Linked DNA regions of Homo sapiens: regions 1 and 3 are each linked to region 2. The links are contacts of gene promoters, found by promoter capture Hi-C in blood cells and fetal thymus (Javierre and others, 2016). All regions are on one chromosome and are shown on one strand. The core of a region is centred on a gene start or on the middle of the fragment in contact, and the rest is flanking DNA. Distances in the headings are between cores, read along the strand shown. Region 1 overlaps PDZD2 (PDZ domain containing 2). Region 2 holds the start of PDZD2 (PDZ domain containing 2). Region 3 holds the start of LOC124901200 (small nucleolar RNA U13).

Region 1 (4,457 bases), core at 34-2,533, 210 kb after region 2:
CAACTGAGCACAAATTATTCATGTTTTCGAGACTGTGAAAGGTAGAAATGGAAGAAGATATTGTTACCACGTCAGAAGAATGGGAGATGAGAAGAATTCTTTCTCTCTCTCCGTCAGATGCCAGTAAGCAATCGGACTATCAAACATCTCCAGACATTGCCAAATGTCCCTGCGGGGATAGGGGAAGGGTGTGTAAAATACCTGATTGAGAATCACTGGCTTACAATATCAGGCATCATCCTAGACACTCAGCCTCTCCTCCTCAACAAGCCTTTAAGGTAGACGGTTTAAATATAAGGACAGGAAATGTCAAATGACTTACCCAGAATCTCACGGATAATCATTATGGGATTTGAACTTTAAACCTAGGTCTTTCTTATTCCACTACGTCTCCACACTGCCATATAACACACAGTTCCAACACCAAAGGAACTTCAGAGCTATCTGGAGAGGTGTGATGTGAACCAAGTAAGTTTCAGTGTGTTCCCTGGAGAATGAGTGATGTGAGCACTCAGAAGAGAGAGCTAACAGTGGGAGGGAAGTCAGGGAACGTGTCCTGCACAGATTAGAATGTTCTTTGCATATTTGTGGGCAAACAGTGAGTTTGTGCAGAGAAGTGGCAGGAAGTAAGATCCGGACAGATAGCATTGGGTAGCAATTAAGAGTAAGCACTGGTTCCAGGTAGACTCTCAGATCCAGCTCCTCTACTTATTAGTTGTGTGACCATGAGCTACTTAGATAATCTTGTCCAGTTTCATTGCCTGTAAAATGGGTTGCTGTAATAATAGTACATATTCTAAGATTGTAATAGGGATTTAATGACCTAATACATAAAAGGCTTACAACAGGTCTTGGCATCCTGTATGTGTTCAATACATGCTAGCTACTTAGTACTTGGTTCTGTTGGACTTCAAATAGAGTTTAGAATCTATATTGTAAATAATGGCAGCTTTTGAATCAAGACCTGCAAAGATGTTCCAGAGGCACCACAATCCCCCTTCCTGTGTGCACTGGAAGATCACAAATTAGTATATCTTTGGATCAGAAACCATTCTCCGGTTCCATGAACTGTTCTGTTCCTGGGGAACTATGTCAAATGGTTCAGCCCCTCTGTGGTGGCTTTGGGTTTGAAGCATTTTGTTTGTTTGGTTGGTTGGTTTTTTTCTTTGAGACGGAGTCTCACTCTGTTGCCCAGGCTTGAGTGCAGTGGCGCAATCTCGCCTCACTGCAACCTCCGCATCCCGGGTTCAAGTGATTCTCCTGCCTCAGCCTCCCGAGTAGCTGGGATTACAGGCGTGCACCACTGCACCCAGCTAATTTTTTGTATTTTTAGTAGAGACAAGGTTTCACCATGTTGGCCAGGCTGGTCTTGAACTCCTGACTTCAGGTGATCTGCCCACCTCGGCCTCCCAAAGTGCTGGGATTAGAGGCGTGAGCCACCACGCCTGGCCAGGTTTGAAGCATTGAGGACATCTTCCCAACAGAGCTGCGAAGAGGGAAAGAGACATGGGCATCTGTTCAGACGTCATTCACTCATCCATCCATTCAATCAACATTTACTGAATACCTTTTTAATTCTGGGCATCATGTTTCCATTAACTACATCTGGAACACCAATAAGTCACCACCCCGTCTGTGTGTCAGCTGAAAGTTGATTGGATAGAATTGTCATTGTTTAGTTTCAGGACAATTCAAAGTTATATTTGTGGATTGTGTCAGAATCCTGAGGTTTCTTCTCATGCTTTGCTTGGTGCCACTGCTGGGCCTTGTGTTTGTGGAGAGCTGGTGGCCCTGGATGTGGTCGGGGATCTTCTCCTGGGAATTTCCGCTTTCTTCCTTTCTTCAGCTTTTTACAGCTGCATAAGGTTTAGATCTGTTAGCAAACACTTGTATAATTATGCCCCTCTCTGTTTACAGATTTAGGATAAATTGTCCTAATGGGAAAATATCTGTCCTTTAGAGTAATTTGGATCAAGGCTTTTTATTTTTTGTTTGTGTCTGGTTCACTTGCCTTTCTAAAAATCATTTTGCTGTCTGTTTCACTCATGAATCATCTATTGTTGATATACAACAGCACTCAATAAACCTCGTTAAAAATCTTGTCTTGATCTAAAAGTAGTTGACATTGGGGAAATATGTGACCCATCCATATGCTGTCTCATAGATACTGAATTGAAGGAAACATTGGATTATTGTAAGGCTCTTTGGGGACATCTGATAAGAAGCCCACAGAAATGACAAGCCAGAGGTCTGTGCTGAGCTGTGACATGAGTCTCTGTTCTGTAGGGTGGGGTTTGTTAAAGTTGTCAGGAATAAGGCCTACTTTAAAAGATACAAAATGAAATTTAGAAGACGACAAGAGGGTAAAACCGATTACTATGCTAAGAAACGCTTGGTGATAGAGGATAAAAATAAGTACAACACACCCAAATACAGGATGAGAGTTCGCGTAACAGAGATATCATTTGTCAGATTGCGTATGCCCATGTAGAAGGGGATATGATAGTCTGCACAGCTTATGCACACACTGCCAAAATTTGGTGTGAAGGTTGGCTGACAAATTCTGCTGCAGCATATTGTACTGGCCTGCTGCTGGCTCGGAGGCTTTTCAGTAGGTTTGGCATGGGCAAGATCTAGGAATGCCAAGTGGTGGTGACTGGAGATGAATACAATGTGGAAAGCATTGATGGCCAGCCCGGTGCCTTTACCTGCTATTTGGATGCAGGCCTTGCCAGAACTACCACTGACAATACAGTTTTGGAGGCCCTGAAGGAAGCTGTGAATGGAGGCTTGTCTATCCCTTGCAGTACCAGACGATTCCCTGGTTATGATTCTGAAAGCAAGGAACTTAATGCAGAAGTTAATGCATTGGAAGCACATCACGTGTCAGAATGTTGCAGATTACATGCGTTACCTAATGGAAGATGAAGATGCTTACCAGAAACCATTCTCTCAATACATAAAGAACAGCATAACTCCAGACATGATGGGGATGTATAAGAAGGCTCATGCTGCTATGCAAGAGAATCCAATCTATGAGAAGAAGCCTAAGAAAGAAGTTGAAAAGCAGAGGTGGAACTATCCCAAAATGTCCCTTGCCCAGAAGAAAGATCAGGTAGCTCAAAAGTAGGCAAGCTTCCTCAGAGCTCAGGAGCGGGCTACTAAGACCTAAACCAAACAATTTTCTATGAAGATTTTTCAGATAAAGACAATCAACTTATTTACTAAGCAGCTGAAGAAAAGGAAACAGGAAATGACCGACCAGAGCCTTGACCACCATGCTGGAAAACCTCATTTCAGTTCATGTGTCTTAAGGCATCACAGTCAAGAAGCATTTGTATTCATTCATTCCACAGTCAAACCTACTATATGCAAAGTTAGATTACAGCTGAATAATTAAATGTATAAAGGTGAACCTTGATTTGAATTCTTCAGCTTTGTGGGAGATAGCAATGCACCCTCCCTATCAGAAAGTGAACTTGGGGCCTGGCGCCGTGGCTCACGCCTGTAATCCCAGCACTTTGGGAGGCTGAGGTGGGCAGATCACCTGAGGTCAGGAGTTTGAGACCAGCCTGGCCAACATGGTGAAACCCCGTCTCTACTAAAAATACAAAAACCAGCCAGGTGTGGTGGTGGGCACCTGTAATCCCAGCTACTCAGGAGGCTGTGGCAGGAGAATTGCTTGAACCCGGGAGGCAGAGGTTGCAGTGAGCCAAGATCGTGCCATTGCACTCCAGCCTGGGCGACAGAGTGAGACTGTCAAAAAAAAAGAAAAAAGAAAATGGGCCGGGCACGGTGGCTCACACCTGTAATCCCAGCACTTTGGGAGGTCTAGGTGGGCAGATCACGAGATCAGGAGATTGAGAACATCCTGGCTAACACGGTGAAACCCCGTCTCTACTAAAAATACAAAAAATTAGCCAGGCGTGGTGGCAGGCGCCTGTAGTCCCAGGTACTAGGGAGGCTGAGGCAGGAGAATGGCGTGAACCCAGGAGGTGGAGCTTGCAGTGAGCCGAGATCTTGCCACTGCACTCCAGCCTGGGCGACAGAGCGAGACTCCATCTCAGAAAATGAACTTGGTCCTTCCTTTCCTCTGTTTTGCTGGGAAAAGATGATTATTTCCCCAGGCAATGTAAACCTGTGTACAGCTTGCTTTTCAGTCAGTTTGGCCAATAAGCATGAATGCTTCTTTTTGCAGTGTTTCCTCCCTCTGAATAGCTAAAAATACCTAATGATAAGAGGCAGTGGTGTAATGATTACGCACACCCTTTTGAGTCAGACCAAATGGGTTTGAATTAGGACTCCAGCATTTATTAGCCGTGTTACTTAACCTCTTTGTGACTCAGTTTCCTTGTGTTAGAATAAGACTAATAATTATACCCACTTCACAGGGCTACTGCAAAAAAATGAGATAATCTAAATAAAGTACTTAGCACAGTGCCCAATATAATTATAGT
Region 2 (4,852 bases), core at 1,269-3,768:
GATCACACATTTTTTCTTTGTTTATCATTTTAATCTTCCTTTGCTCTGAAGTCTTAGATATTCTATATACAGCCTCCTCCTCCTCCACATCACATATATTATGAGCACTAAATTAAAATGGCAACTTTGATAGAAATACTAATCTGTGACTAAATGTTTAACAAGGGGGCAAAAAGGATTTACATTTTGATCTTCAAACATTGGAAAATAAATGCCCTCAGTTGTCAGCTTTCCAAATTGACAAGACTGCAAGGGCAAAACAAAATTTCCATGCATTTGATTGACCTCTGTGAATTGAGCTATTATTAGCAGATAAGAACTTGCCAAAAATATCTGGAAAATATCAGCTGAAAAGTGATTGAAACGAAGTATTTAAAGCAGGTCAGCAGGGCCATGTCTGAAGGAGACAGATTATAAAATACATCTGTATATATTGTATTTATACATAATATATGCCACATATAACATACATGTATATACCTAACAATTCATTTTAATTCAGCAAATATTTATTGAGTGGCTATTGGGTCGGACACCATGCCACCCTAGGCTTTGGGAACACAAACAATAAGCTTTAAGTTCTCTTACCTCCAAGAACTCACAAGCTAGAAATATGTGAGACAAAACGCCATAATTCCTACAACATAATACACCTGACAAGGGTTAGATGAGCAATTTGCATAAAGTGCTACCATTGCAGCAATTAACAAGGCAGAGGAAACGTGATGTTTGTTCTGATGATCAGAGAAGCCTTTCCAGTAGAGATGACATTTACCTCCTTGGGATTTCAGCAGACACAGGAGAGTGAGAATGTCACTCTGGCAGAGGAAACAGAATTTACAGATTAGGAGTACATGGCTGGAATGAAAGAGTTGGGGATGGAGTGGATAAGAAATAGCAGTGACTACAGTTTGAGTGATACATTTATTTGCATATTCATTGATTCAGCAAACTTTTCATTGGTGCTGAGGGAGGTAGGCCCAAGGTATGTGCTGGGTACAGAGGCTGAGAAAACACGGGACAGAGTGGTGGAAGATGGGCCTGGGATTGTGGAAAAAACAGAAAGCACCAGCCCTGTTTGATCCTTCTAGAAGGATTTTTTTGTAGTGTCCCAATGATACCTTTCATTGATAATGGTTACCATTTCATTGAGCACCTCCTAAGTGCTGTGCTGAATAGCTGTGTTACTGCTAGTTCCAGCAATCCTGCATGGTAGGTGTTTTCTCTATTTACACATAGGAAGAGAAGCTCTGAGTGCCTGAGTGCCCAGCTTGTCATATACGATGCTTGGATTTGTGCAAGCATTGATCTCAATGGCCTGGTAATTATAAAAGCTGAAGAACAGCTGAAATCAAGAACTTCTCCACCCCAGCCCCTGAGGACAATACCACCTCCAAATGCCTTGGGCCCACTCTGGTCTCTGGTGTGGTGGGACAGCGCTGTCCGGTCTGCGCAGGTGATTTATGTCTGCCTGCTTTTCGGAGAGGCCAGAGTTTATTGCCTTGCTGGGCAGAACTGCAGCTGGGGCCTGCCCTGTCCCATCCCCATCCCCCCGAAAGCAAAGATTTCCAATTACTGTTCTGTAGAAAATGTCAAAAGCATTATTCAACTATTCATTATCCCAGGTTTTGCAATTTTTCATATGTTTTTACTCTTATCTGCCAGCACTTGAAAAAGACCAGCTTTTTCCTCTTAAGAGAGCTTAATTTGCAGAGCTGTGCAGTCTTCCTATTATGTTCTTATCATCCTCTCCCTTTGGTAGGCAGAATGACAAGGATGACAAAAAAAGAACCAAAAATATTTGAAGGCCTTCCTGAAAATCCACCGGAATGAAGGATCCCAAAAGCCTGAGGCTCGGTTCCTCGAGTGACCTGGACGGGAGCCAAGGGCGGCTGGCATTAGCTCTCACAGTCCACTCGGCAGGAGCTCGTGGCTAGTGCTCATGGGACCAAAACCACCACCCCAGGGCCATGGGATTCCCCCCCAGGGGCTTAACTGGGGGATTAAGCAGCTCTGAGGTGCCAAGAGGTCCCCTCTCCCCGAAATCCTCGTACCAGTGCTAAATTACCTTTGGTATCCCAAGGACCAGAGGCTAAGGGTAGCTTGGGGTGAGTGGTTAGCTCTTCCCCCATCTCCTGTGGCCCCTCCGCCCCATTCTTTGATAAGGTAACTGACATTTTTCTCTTTGCTGTGTAAAGTGCTATGCAGAGGCAACTTCACGTCCCCTAGCTCGCTCTGTTCCACCTAGATGGCGCCCTAAGCCCCGCCTGTATGGAGATTCGGAGCAGCCATCTCCCTGGATGCCTTCCTCCCACGATCCCCAGGTTTCTGAAGCGGGCGCACCAGGACTCCTGGCTCACCCAGAGAGACGCCTTGCCCGCGGCGGGGCTCGCTCGGGGAAATCCCCGCCCACCTTGTTATTCCTGCAGGGGAATCCCCGCCCCCCGTCCCTGTCACTCGGGGAAGGGAGTTCCCGCCCCTCGAATCAACCAGGGGGAGGGAATCCCCGCCCATCCTGGAGGCTCGGCGGATCCCCTGCGCAGCGAGGCGAGGAGCGGACCCCAGCGCCGGTGCGTGCCGGCCCCGGGCAGCGGGACGCGGCGGGGCGGCGGCTGCAGGCAGCCGAGGAGCCGCAGGCCGAACCCAAGGCACCGGGATTGCGCCTCCCGCGGCTGCCGGCGAACCGCGGCTCTGCAGCTCGGGGCAGGCGCGGCGGCGGCACCGGTGGTGGCCGCGGTGGCGGCAGCTGCGCGGGGACCCGCCGGGCGGCGCCTGGGTCTGGACGCGCGAGGAAGCCGCGGGAGCCTCGGCCAAGCCGCGAGCAGGTGAAGCGACCGTCCCGCTGCAGCCGGGACGCGCGGCTCCGGGTGGGCAGGGGATGGGGGAGGCCCGGCACCCCCGAGACCGTGTGTGCCCAGGAAAGTTTAGCTACAAATCCGGGTGCGGGAATCCCAGCCCTGGCAGGGCGGGGAGTGAGGACGCCGAACCGGGGTCCCACGTTGGGCGGCGCAAACTCCTCTAGCATCCGGCCGGGGACGGGGAGGGCGCAGCCCAGGGGAGGGGGCTAGACAGAGCGGGACCGAGACAGCGGGACAACCGGAGACGCACTGCCGGGGGTACTCAAGACAGGGCCGGGACCTCCTGCTCGGGCGCGCATCCCGGGTCCCCATCCCTGGGCCGTCTTCTGGTCCCTTCCTCCGACAGGAGTGGAGGTACTCAGGTACTCCGGCCTCAGGTAATGTCTTGGGGACCATCCTCCCTCGGGCTTGTTTCATCTCTCAACCCCCGCCTCTTTGCCCAGATGAGACGTTAGACGCGGGGCGAGGGAATGCAGGGGGCGCGCAAAGATCAAGGGCATCTTAGGGCCGGTTATTGGCGTCTGCCGGGGAGATGGGGAACATAGTGATAGGGAAATCCTGCTCTCTCTCTGAAGTCGAGTTTCTCCTAAAATCTGGTTTCTCCCTCCCTCTGTTCCTCTCTCCCTCCCTCGGGTTTGCGTTTGTGTTTTAAGTCTTTGAGCTGCCTGTGGTCCCCGCTATTTGGAAAATCCATTAAAGCGCAAGGCTGAATTCAGCAGCAGGAGGGTCCAGGACCCCTGGCAGGAGTTTGCCAGAAGCTGTCCTCGGCAGCCCAAATCTATGCAGAGACCTTGATAAGGGACACTGGAGTGGGAAGAGGACAAGGTCTGGCATGGGCTGGTCGCAGAGACTGGAATGGCAGGCACGAGGGCATTCCAGAGCTCCAGACCTGCCCTGGGACTGGCCGTTGGGCAGTGTTGGGGGATGGAGCTGAGTCTGAGTCTGTCCCCTGCAGCTGGCCTAACCTCTTGCCTCCACCAAAGGTAGGGTAGGTGGATATGTTTGCCTTGACAAATCGCAATGAAACTACTGGAAGTGGTTGCTGAGTGGCTGCAGTAAGTGATGCCCTGATCTGTCCTTGCAGAGAGACCCCCTGGACCTTCAGGGCCTGTTCTCCAGTGGGGTCTCTGAACACTGGAGGGCTTTAGGGGCCTGGCATCTCTACTGGGCCAGCTTTTGTGGGTTGTGACTTCTGGGTGGTGGCCAGATAGGTACAGGTTGGCAGGTGTGAAGTGGGAGTGCTGCTTGTGGGGGCAGAAGAGAATGTCTCAGAACACACCCCTGGCTGTAGGTGGTGGTTCTGGCTTCATGAATTCCTTCTTCCATTAGGATGGGCCCAGAGCTTCTGCTCCTATAATAACCACCTAGTTGTGTGAGTGAGTGTGTGTGTTGCGGGGGTTAGGTGTAGGAGTAGGGGGGTGGCAGGTGCTAGGAGAGGAAAAATCAGAACCATGTAAAGTATATAAATGTACCTACCTTGACATAGTTAATATGCTCCTGGAAAAATATTGAATTATACTTTAAATCTATCGCTGAAATTGATTTTGCATGTACTTTATGGCAGTTTACTATTTAAGGAAACTTATGATAATTTCTCTGTTCATTTCAATCATTTTATTTTTGGAATACCTGTGGTTTGCTGTGCTGGAGGCTGAGGAGGCTTCGAGGTTCCAGGATATGCTTAGATGAAAGATGCTCCCTCGCTGCTGTCAGTTTGTCAGTTTCTGTCCAGCAGGAGAAGGGAGAGAAGCCTGCTAAGCACTATGGTGCAGACCAGTGCACATGCTGCATGTAGTAGACGCCATGTGTTTATTGGATGAAGGAGTGAAGAGATAATTAAGTGAGTAAAGTACCTGAAGAGTGGTCCAAATAAAACATTTTGGGAGTATGGAGGAAAAAGAAGTCACTTTTGCCAGAGAGGATCTGAAAGGCTTTGTGGAGGAGCTCTTAGGTAGAAGTCGAGAGGTTGATCCTGAGTTAGGACTCAGTGCTAA
Region 3 (4,285 bases), core at 681-3,180, 190 kb after region 2:
AGTGAGCCAAGATCGCGCCATTGCACTCCATCCTGGGAGACAGAGTGAGACTCTGTCTCAAAACACAAACAAGCAAAACAAACAAAGCAGAAAGTTTGGCCGGTAACAGAAGTAACACTCAGAAAAATACTCCAGCTGACCTAGAGGAAAGCAAATAACCTCCACTGTCAACTGCAGATGGAGAAGTGCAACCTCTAGGAACTGAAAGCAGTCCCTGATTGGCAACTCACAGGAAAAAGATACCTCAGGCCTACAACCACAAAGAATTGAACTCTGCCATCAAGCGGTGAGCTTGGAAGATATAGGAGCAGGAAAACCACCTCCATCCTCTTACGGTCCTGAGAATTGAGATAAGATAGATTACAGGAAAAAAGCATACACATTTCTTTACAGATGTTTTACAGGAGTCCTCCTAAAATAATGAAGACCCAAAGAAGCAGTTATTGTCAGTTTCTTCCATTCTGGATTGGACGCAATAGTAAACTGTGAACATGTGTAAGGCGAAGGGGCTTGCACTAGGATAGTAAATAGGGTAGGAAAATAGCTAGGAAGAGAAAGGCTTGTTTGTACAGAATTTCCTTGACCTCAACTTTCTCGTCCTTGATGGCAAGGATGTTGCATCTTACTAGTATAGGGAGGGCGTCTTTCACATGGGAATTTAATCTTCTGATTTTAAGAAACAGCATGAAGGTCAAAGTGATCTTTTTGCACCTGCTGTTTTTCAAGTGCCTTTAACTTAAATAATCAGTATTCCAGGATAGCATATTTTAACTCCTTCAAAAAGGTCCCTGAGCCCCAGATGAGATTGTTGGCAGCTCCAGTCAACACAAGCCCAGCCATGCCATAGCTGTATTCTTACCTACAGAACCGTGAGCTAATAAATGGGTATTGCTCCAAAGCTTCTACATTTGTGGTAATTTGTTACGTAGCAATAGAAAACAAATATAATGGCAACATGCAATTTAGTACTTGATCCCTCTCCTGTCATTTACTCATTGTTTTGCATGTATAAATCTTGCCTTCCTTAACCAGATTATAACCTCCCTGAGAACCAGACCAAATTTGATGTTTTTTCTGCATAGCCAAATTATCTACCATGCCATAGGGGCTACACTGGGAGGAAGGTGGGGTGAGTGTTTAACATCCTGGCTTTAGAATCAGCCTGCCTTGATCCTTTTGTAGTTCGTGAGTATGATGACTGGGTGTTCACGGCCGTGTGTGAGATGTGCCACCCTCAAACCTTGTTGCAATGTCAGTGCATTACCTGTCTAACCTGAAAAAAAAAAAAAAGAATCAGACTGTCTTGGCTTAAATCTTGGCTTAAACTTTCTAAGCTTTAGTTCCCTCATTTTAAAATGGGAATAAAATGCGTTAGGAAAATTATGGAAAGATACACAAACATTGTTATCAGCAGTTACTTCAGAGGGAACGATTGCAGGATCAAATATCATAGGAGGTTTTTAGGATTAAATGAAATGATGCTTAGAAAGTTCTTAGGACAGTGCATGGCACATGGTAAAGCTCTATTAATACTAGCTCCGTGTTTGTAGAAAAACAGACCCTTTGACATGCTCGCCCTTCCTGCAGTTCCATATGTGCTAAATTTGTTTAGTATCACATGACACTGGCCCTGTCTCCCTACACACGCCCACGCATCCCCACCTCCACCTCCTGGCCACCCACCAGGGATAGATAGACTAAACCCAGCCATTAGACTTGACTGACAACCAGTTTAATCTCCTGAAAATCTGGAATCAAGCCAGTGAGAGACCACGCTGCTTTGCTGTGTGGGATGAGCTGGAACACCAAACGGAACCACATCTGGATTCATGTCCAGAAAGAGTCAGAGCCACATGCCCGTACTACAGTTACAGAATGGCAGACGTCAAGAGGAAGCTGGTTTCTTTAGAGGAACACAGAGTGGACATGCAGAAAAGGACAGGGATGAAAGACAGTGTCCCCAGAAAAAGGGATGGGACAGTACCTTCCAGGGGCTGGCAGTTTCCAGCACCAGTTCCCACAGTGCCTAGCTGGACTTGTTTCCCCAAGATCTCCATGTCCTCATAAGTGTCCTTTGCAAACAAATAAGCCCTAGCCAAAGAAAGGCTGCTGTGGGTGACAAATCAGACAGTCGGTCATGTTCTAATACATCCTGGGACACCGGGCTCTGGTGCTGACTCCACATCAATGTACAAGACAATTAAATGGTATTTGTAGTCTTTTTCCAGACCTTTTTTCAACTGTCAGCACAGTTGAATTCCCAGTGGCCTCTGGAGGGCACTATTCAGTTAAGTTTATTCCACGGTAGTGAGCACTACACCAGCAGAGCATTTAAGGAAAAGGTGTTTGAAATAATAGTTACCATTTCCTGAGTACCAACAACATGCTAACCACGGTGCTGCTTGCTTTACGTATATTGTATCTTAAACAATCACAACGGCTGTTTCCATCCAGCAATTGGAGATTGTTTTCGAGCATGGTTACTTGTTTCCACAGGCATGCTATTAACAGGTGTCAAGCAAAAGGAAAGCTTTTTTTTTTTCCTCTTTTAATGAACAGGAAGACTGAGTTTACAGCTCCTGATGCGAACCAGTTCAAGTTCAGTTGCCCCTCAATGTACTCCTTTTTAATTAGAAAAACAACAAATGTAGCACCATTGCAACACAGAGGGGAAAAGATATTTGGTACGGGGGTATAAATATCTGGGTCCCTCTTCTCTCTCAAGGTGAGGCAAAATGTTTCCTGTCTCCTGCCTTTTATCCATGCCCCCAAGATAATCGTGTTGGTTTCATGCCCGGCTGTGGGCTGCTAGGGAGTGGGAGCTGCTCCACAGGGAAGAAGTTTTTGTTCTCTACCTTGCTCAATGCCACCGTGGTGGGGAGGGTAGGAGTGAGGCTCCAAACCTTTTCAGGTAACAGTTCCCTGCAAAGTCTGAAAACAACCACTGACCTGTCTCCCTTTTATTTTTTACAAGATATTTGAGGCCAGCCACGGTGGTTCATGTCTGTAATCTCAGCACTTTGGGAAGCCGAGGCGGGTGGATCATTTGAGGTCAGGAGTTCAAGACCAGCCTGACCAACATGGTGAAACCCTGTCTCTACTAAAAATACAAAAAAAATTAGCCAGCTGTGGTGGCACGCACCTGTATTCCCAGCTACTTGGGAGGCTGAGGCAGGAGAATCACTTGAACTCGGAAGGCAGAGGTTGCAGTGAGCCGAGATCACGCCACTGCACTCCAGCCCGGGTGACAGAACAAGACTCTGTCTCAAAAAAAAAAAAAAGATATATGAAACCTGTTTATTCGATATTATCAATGTAAATTAAAACATTTATCAGATATTACCCAAATGAGCCACATGCATTAGGTATATGCTTCTCATTTACTTCTTACAACATCCCTATGAGGTAAGAGGCGAGTATTATTACCTGCATTCACAGATGAGGAAATATAGGCTGAGAAAGATTGGATAAACCCATCTATTAAGAGACAGAGCCTGGAATCGAGCCGGGGTGACCTGCCTCCAAGACCTGAGTCTTTTTTTGCTGGGATGCTCTGTCAATTGCTACCCATATGCCAAATAGTGTGTCTGTCCCTATAGACAGCACGTCCATTCCCCAGAAAGGAGCGTAACCTTCCTGTAGGCAGCAACAATTCTGTAAGTGGCATCCTGGCCAGGGAACCTTGCTCTTTATTCATGAGGTCACTGTCTTGCCACTTCCCCACTATGGAGGGGTGAACCGGGAATCAGAAAATCTGGGTTCTGAACACTTTCTTAATCTATATTTATTCATTTAAGGATATTTACTGACCACCTACTGTTTCAGCTCTGGAACTGCATATTGGGGAAATACTCTTCTATAAAACATATAAAGTCCCTGGTTTTCTGGGGCCTTTATCCGTGCCTTGGAAAACTGACTTATCCTTGTAGGCGTAATTGTGATTAATAACGATATGAAGGAATTTTTAAAGTAAGCTTTCTTGTTATATAATAGCTTTCCTGAGGCTGGGTGTGGTGGCTCATGCCTGTAATCCCAACACCTTGGGAGGCTGAGGTGGGTGGATCACTTGAGATCAGGAGTTCGAGACTAGCCTGGCCAACATGGTAACACCCCGTCTCTACTAAAAATACAAAAATTAGCTGGGTATGGTGGCATGCGCCTGTAATCTCAGCTACTCAGGAGGCTGAGGCAGGAGAATTGCTTGAACTGAGAGGCAGAGGTTGCAGTGAGCTGAGATCACGCCACTGCACTCCAGCCTGGGTGATAGAGCAAGACTCTGTCTCAA

The links. Contacts are between HindIII fragments. The CHiCAGO score rates a contact against its expected background, and 5 or more counts as called.
Region 1: a fragment that was not itself captured here is called in contact with the fragment with the promoter of PDZD2 in region 2 in 1 of 17 cell types (megakaryocytes); the score reaches 5.0 in megakaryocytes.
Region 3: a contact is called between a fragment that was not itself captured here and the fragment with the promoter of PDZD2 in region 2, in 6 of 17 cell types (megakaryocytes, M1 macrophages, erythroblasts and 3 more). The highest score is 10.2, in megakaryocytes.

Annotation. Positions count from the first base shown.
Region 1 is chr5:31,844,984-31,849,440 of GRCh38, forward strand. All of the region lies in intron 2 of PDZD2 (PDZ domain containing 2), which reads left to right. It also overlaps the pseudogene RPL5P14. Among named protein-coding and RNA genes, the nearest start is that of MIR4279, 89 kb to the right of the region's middle. The HindIII fragment of the contact is 3,699 bases long and covers 1-3,133 here.
Region 2 is chr5:31,636,613-31,641,464 of GRCh38, forward strand. PDZD2 (PDZ domain containing 2) reads left to right here and starts at 2,519. Exons shown (of 25, transcript NM_178140.4): 1 at 2,519-2,825. RefSeq lists a silencer at 2,473-2,822. The HindIII fragment of the contact is 6,072 bases long and covers 571-4,852 here.
Region 3 is chr5:31,823,409-31,827,693 of GRCh38, forward strand. The region is part of intron 2 of PDZD2 (PDZ domain containing 2); the gene reads left to right. It overlaps LOC124901200 (small nucleolar RNA U13), which reads left to right and starts at 1,171; the gene lies at 1,171-1,274. The HindIII fragment of the contact is 1,196 bases long and covers 1,333-2,528 here.